Regions from separate parts of the Homo sapiens genome. Here region 2 is linked to region 1. The links are contacts of gene promoters, found by promoter capture Hi-C in blood cells and fetal thymus (Javierre and others, 2016). All regions are on one chromosome and are shown on one strand. The core of a region is centred on a gene start or on the middle of the fragment in contact, and the rest is flanking DNA. Distances in the headings are between cores, read along the strand shown.

Evidence for each region. Contacts are between HindIII fragments. The CHiCAGO score rates a contact against its expected background, and 5 or more counts as called.
Region 2: a contact is called between a fragment that was not itself captured here and the fragment with the promoter of PAXIP1-AS2 in region 1, in 1 of 17 cell types (naive B cells). The highest score is 7.8, in naive B cells.

Annotation. Positions count from the first base shown.
Region 1 is chr7:154,926,596-154,929,766 of GRCh38, forward strand. PAXIP1-AS2 (PAXIP1 antisense RNA 2) reads left to right here and starts at 1,922. Exons shown (of 8, transcript NR_024476.1): 1 at 1,922-2,172; 2 at 2,361-2,429. RefSeq lists enhancers at 2,003-2,062, 2,083-2,182, 2,333-2,552. The HindIII fragment of the contact is 7,419 bases long and covers 597-3,171 here.
Region 2 is chr7:155,447,646-155,450,602 of GRCh38, forward strand. All of the region lies in intron 2 of EN2-DT (EN2 divergent transcript), which reads right to left. Among named protein-coding and RNA genes, the nearest start is that of EN2-DT, 8.0 kb to the right of the region's middle. The HindIII fragment of the contact is 2,113 bases long and covers 362-2,474 here.

The DNA of each region.
Region 1 (3,171 bases), core at 672-3,171:
AAAAATTGCAAAGTGGAAGGTTAGGTCCATTAGGGAGTTTCTAGGGGTATTGTGAAGGCCAAAATTGTGTGAATAGTTGTTTTAATTGTAAATTCATAATTGTATTAGCCTCGCTCTTTTGTTTGGCTTCCCTCTCTCTTTCTTCTTCAGTTAAGGTATCAGATAACCGGTCAATGAGACTGACCAAATCATGAGTATCAGAAGTGGCCCAACTTTGTCTTTTCATTGTTAGTTCCAATTCATCTAACTCATTTGTTAAACTGGAGTCGAGTATCATTTCGATGATTAGCACAGCTTTCTTCGGATAAAACTAAATATTCTTTAAAATTTTTTCCACAGCCCTCAAAGTATATTACTGACTCATCTGAATTTTGTTGATATTGTATTTTGTTCCAGTTGACTACTCTGAAAAACTGAGGAGATAGCCTGATGCAAAGCCTTTGCTGTTCTTCAAGCCTGTCTATGGTCCTCTTCTGAACATTTATGAAGATCCCTAACAGATTTCTCCAGTGAGCTTTGTCTAGCCAGCCTTTAGCTTTAATTTTTGCTACTAACATGTGAATCTGTTGCTAGAAGTCAGAATAACTAGGGTCATAAGCTTGGATATTTAATTCAAATTTCCTAGCAAAACCAATAGGAACCTGGTGAAGATCAAGGAATTCTTTTAACTATGCCTGTAAGTTTGATCATGATTGATAAAGCAGGTTCCCCTCTACCAGATGCTGGATGAAATGGAGCCAAACCAGTGGGAGCAGGAGGAGGGGCAGGAGGAGGAGGAGGAGAAGGTCAATCAGGGCTGGGTAGTTCTGACAAGGAGGCTTAGAGAGACAGGGGAGCAGGGAGAGAAGAAGACATTTCAGTGTTTTTTAAAATTCAGTAATGGTTTTAGAGTGCTTTTTATTTTCTTCCTCTAAGGGAAGAATTCTGTCAAAACCTCTTTTGGATGCTTCTGGGTGCCATTGGAAGTAACTCTCTTAATTATTTTATTTGATTCCATAGCTGGCTTTTTAAAATTGTGCATATAAATAAACTAATCTAGCTATTTCAAAGATAATTCTCTTTGATCATTGTAATTTAGGATCTTCTTAGGTCAAATAAGACCATTTCTCCAACTATCGACAGGAGGTGGCGCCATAAGTCTTGTACATAAACCCCGCTGGAGTTTCCAAAGGTGCATTGCTTAATGAGGGCTTGGTTATAGATGGATAATTGCTCATAATTTGGATTCTCTTTTAAAATGCCCAAAGGCTAAAAGGGAAAAGTGTTTGGGGTCCAGTGTGCTGCTTAGTAGGGATTATTCCTGGAGGTATCACCTACAAGTAGCTTCTTCCCTCTTACCTACCTCAGAGAAACCCAGACATTTCTGGGAGTTCAAGGCACTGGGTGACGAACCCCTTGTGTGTTGTGTGCCCCGGGGGTTAAGCAGCTCTCCCTGTGAGTTCTTCTCTGGGGTTTGTTGTGAGCTTCCACACCCTTGTGTTACCTCCATTGCCTAAGGTGCCTTTCAGCTGGGAGAAAGAGTCCTTTTTGTCTTCAGCTTATCACGTCCTCATTCCAACCTTTTACAAATTTTGGGTGACTCAGGAAGAAACTTTAAATCTCAATGTTAACCAAGATCCAAAGCCTGGCTGGTTTAAAGCCACAAATTTGGCTTAAGCCACAAACATTCACTTTCTCCTTTTACAAAGAAAACTGCTTTCTCTTTAACCAAATGTCAAATGAGAGAAAAGGTTACAAACTTGAGCAAGTAAAAAAATGTCCAATGAGAGAAAAGGTTACAAACTTGAGCAAGTAAAATGTCCAATGAGAGAAAAGGTTACAAAAGAGCAAGTAAGACGAACGAAAACTTAACCTAATAGAAAAGTGAAACCACAAACCTGCCAATAGCAGAATCTTTAGAGAAATGACGCGAAACTCCTGCCTTAAAGCCCTAAATGGCGGCTTCAATATCAGTCCCACTGAGCATGAAATTCATTTACTTAAATAAAATCTGAATCTCAGCCCAAACCTGGGAGATTCAAAACCTGAGAGCGGTCTTACCAAAGACGCCCGTATGTCTGGTGAAGTCAGTTGGATGCAAGCAGTTTGTGCTGGTACCAGGGCCCCAGCTACTGATGAAGTGGCAGGAGTCCACAGAAGCCTACTTCGAAGTTCCCGGGGCTTCCAGGGGAGGTGAGAACACAAGTGATGGGAGAGCCTGGGGAGGGACTGTCTGGTGAGTAAAGGTTGTGCTGCTCTGTGGATGAAATGTCTCTGAGGTCGTAAACATCTCAGAGCCGCCTTCGGGAGAACGGGTGATAGTCATCTGGGCTGATGTCACCTCCAGTGTCCTCTCCTGTGATCTGTGTTAATCCTCCCAGATTGACGAGATTCCTGGGGAGGCGATTCATGACAGCTGAGTTCCTTTTGGAGGATCCGTCTTCAGGCAGGTAAGGGGAGCTCAGAGGAAACCTCTGCCTGCATCCGCTGATTCCCAAGTGCCCTCAGCTCACAGGGATCAGCACTCCCAAGTGCCATGGGGGTGGCATTTCCTGAACTCCTTCAAAGCAATAACAACAGGCTGGGCGTGGTGGCTTACGCCTGTAATCCCAGCACTTTAGGAGGCTGAAGTGTGAGGATTGCTTGAAGCCAGGAGTTCAAGACCAGCCTGGGCAACATAGGGAAACCCTGTCTCTACAAAGAATTAAAAGAAAACTTAGCCAGGAATGGCAGTGCACACATGTGGCCCCGCCTACTCGGGAGACTGAGGTGGGAGGAGTGCTTGAGCCAGGTGGTTGAGGCTGCAGGGAGCTGTGATTGCACCACTGCACTCCAGCCTGGGCAACAGAGTGAGACTCTATCTCAAAACAAACAAACAACAACAACAAAAGTGAAACAATAACAACAACTTTTACAAAACGGACATTTGGGATCTACATGCCACACTCCTAAATGCGTCTCTTAAGCAACAGGTGTCACAGTCTTAAACCTTGTCCTTACCCTCTTCATTCTAGGCACCTGTTTCATTCCAGGTAGGGCTTCCTCCTGGTTTCCTAACACAGCGGGTTGAGATGAACAGCAGAGAAGGACACTGCACACCTCTGCAGGGTCTCCCCTCTGGCCCACCAGCCCTCCCTTCTCCAGCAGTGAAGACCTCACTATGTCATCCAGGCAGGAATAATATAGACAGAA
Region 2 (2,957 bases), core at 168-2,667, 520 kb after region 1:
AGAGACCAATAATAAACGCACCAACACCTTTACAACTGCAAGTAGCCATAAGTGCTGTGGGGAACACACCTGGATTAGGGAGTCATTTTAGATCATGTGACCCTTCTCTGGGGAACAGTCTGTGCCCAAAGATATGGAGAAAGAATGTACCAGATGAACAAAGAGTCAGGACCAAAGGAAAAGAGCTCCCCTGAGGTGGCCATGGCTTGGAGGCTCAAGAACTGGCAAAACTAGACTTAGAACCTCAGGTGAGGGAGGTGGCTGGTGGATTTCATTGTGCCTTGAAGGACATTGTAAGGATGTGTCTAATTCTCATGCACATGGAAACCACTGGTTTTGACCAAGGGTAGGTCTGAGCTGAAGCTTACTCTGTTGTAGGGAGAGCGGTGGACCACAGGGCACATGTGTGAGGTGGAGAGCTGGTTAGGAGGCCATGCAACCCTGCAGGTGGAGGGGGAAAGGGCTTGGGGGCTGGTGGAGGACGCAGGAGTATGGGGGAGCTGTGGAAAAGACGTGGAGGCAGAGCCAGCAGGCCTTGCTAAGGGACAGGAGGTGGCTCTAGAGAGAAAATGAGGGATCAGGGATGTCTCCTGGGGGGTGGCCAGCTGGGTGACTGGGAGAAACTGGGAAGGCGCAGATCAGGGCAGCAGGGGTAGCGGGATCGGGGGTGCTCTGAAGTGAACACGTGAAATTGAAGGTGCTCGTCAGCCTTCCAGTGGAGGCATCCAGGAGGCAGCTGGAACTGGAAGGAAATGGTGACAGTCGTCAGCACCGTAGAGGTGGCGGTGGTGGTGGTTACAGCTGGACCCCTCTGGGCTGGTGGGAAGTGTGGAGGTGAAGGAGCAGGGAGCAGGGGGAGGTGGAGAAGGAAACCTCAGGCTTACATTTTCACCCTATTCTTGGCTGCCATATTTTCAGGAAGTCCCTCTTGAGGCTGGGACAGAGGGTGGGGACAGTTCAGTCTCCCTGAGAGAGTTTATTCTCGGAGGCCTGCGGTGGGAGCCAGGGCGCGGCGGAGAGGGTTTCCCACCTCTTCCCCAGCAAGCGGGAGGGAGGCGCCGGGCTGAGGCTGCGCTGAGCTCGAGCTCGCCGCCCGGGTGGACCCGCCCTGTTCAAGCGCGGAGGGGCGGAGGCCTGGTTGGGTTGTAGCGTGGTGCGGAGCAGGACGCCGCCTCGTGCCATGGTCACTGGAGACGCACGCCCATCTTCCCTCCCGGGCCCGTCGATCCTGCCATCTTCCGCTCCCGGCCGCTCGTGGGTGTTCGTCATTTAGACCTTCCCCGTGCTTCATGGGACGCAAGCCCTCCCCCAGAGTTCGGTTTTGCAAAAGAGGTCTGGAGCCCTCGCTACAGATCCCCTCCCTGGGCCACGGAGGATGAGAAGGGTCACCGAGCCGAGCCGTAATCCTGCGTAACCCCTGACCTCTCTCCTTCCCTGCCCCCACGGCACCCCATCGTCCCCTCCCCGTCTCCGAGGTCCTCCAGAAAACAGCGCAGAATTGTGCAGATGTTTAGGAGATGTGAAGATGCTGGAGATGCTTAGGAGGCGACGGTTACGCGAGGAGAATTGCTTCCAGGTGCGCTTCTGGAACGCACGGAGATCCCCCGGCGGGGAAGGGGCCGGGGCTCGCGTCACTTAGTGTCTGCTCACCGATTTCCCTCTGAAGAGGGGGCCCAGGGCCTCTGCTGAGGGAGCGGGGAGGCGGTGCGGGCCCCTCCCGGGCACACATGGGTGTCCGCTCCTTCCTCCCCCTCCCCTCCCCTCGCACGGAGAGCGGAGAGCGGAGAGCGGAGAGCGACAGGGAGGCAGCCGAAGACTTGAATTTTGAAAGGGGAGCTGGCGGCGAATGGTGAATGAGACAGCTACTTAGGAAGCGAGTCCAGCCAGCCCGGGAGGCGGTGGAGACCCACGCCCGGAAGTAACCGGATTAGGTCTCAGAATGTGATCGCCCCCCGGGTCCCGGGGGAGACGCCAAGGACGCGCAAGCGGAGGGCGCGGAGACAACTGGGAGTCAGAGTCTCCATCACTTGGGCTGGGAACGCCTCTGGGCGTTCCGACGGGGTGGCGGTGGGGGTCGGGGGAGGCCCTTGAGAACCGTGCGGCCCGGGGAGAGCCCACCCATTGCTGAGCCCCGACACAGGCTTTGAAGTTGCTGCAGTGGCTCAGCCCCTCCCCCGTCCGGCCCTGCGCAGCGCGGTGCCGCAGAGTCCAGGCCGTGCCTCCGTTTCGTCGCTCAGAGCTTATTGCGGCGGCTCATTGGACCACGTCGGTGGGGCGATCGCAGCCTCTGATCTGTGAGCTGCAAAGAGCTCCGAGGTTCATTCACAAATCTGCGCCCCCAGCCGTCCCTCCACGCACCCGAGCCACGTCCCGGGACCCGGAGAGCCCGGGGCGTTGGGCGCTGCGGAGGAGGCCCGGCTTCTGTCGCTCCCTTCACCTCCCAGCCCGCGAGGGACTTGGGGGAAGGGGGAGCAAGCTTTCGCTCCGGAAGAAACGTTCGGAACCAAGGAGTCTGACTCCTGGATCCGGGTGCCTGTTGGATCCAGGCTCCCACTCCCGGGCCCTCCGGTCGAACCAAGGGTCCCGACAGGGCCCGAGGCACCCGCATTCCTAGGAGACAGGAGCTCGGCCAGGGCGCATCACCGGGTCCTGCTCCGAGCCAGAGGATGTAGTGTAGACACCCACCCCCACACCGCCCCTCCACAGAGCTCCTCTCCCCTTGGGGCGTCGCTGGGCACAGGGCAGGTCGCTAGGAATCCCCAGTAAAACCACGCTCGCTCAGAGGTTCGCGGCTTCCTCAGAGGGCGCTGGGGAAAGAGAGGGGACCTGATTTCTTCGACCCTCGGAGGAAAAGTGCTCGGGGCCTCCTAGGGACACAGCCCTGGAAGCTCACCTCATCTTAGCTTAGGCCGCGGCGAGGTGGGGAGGAGAGTTAGGAGAGGGGGAGAGGGGCTCTG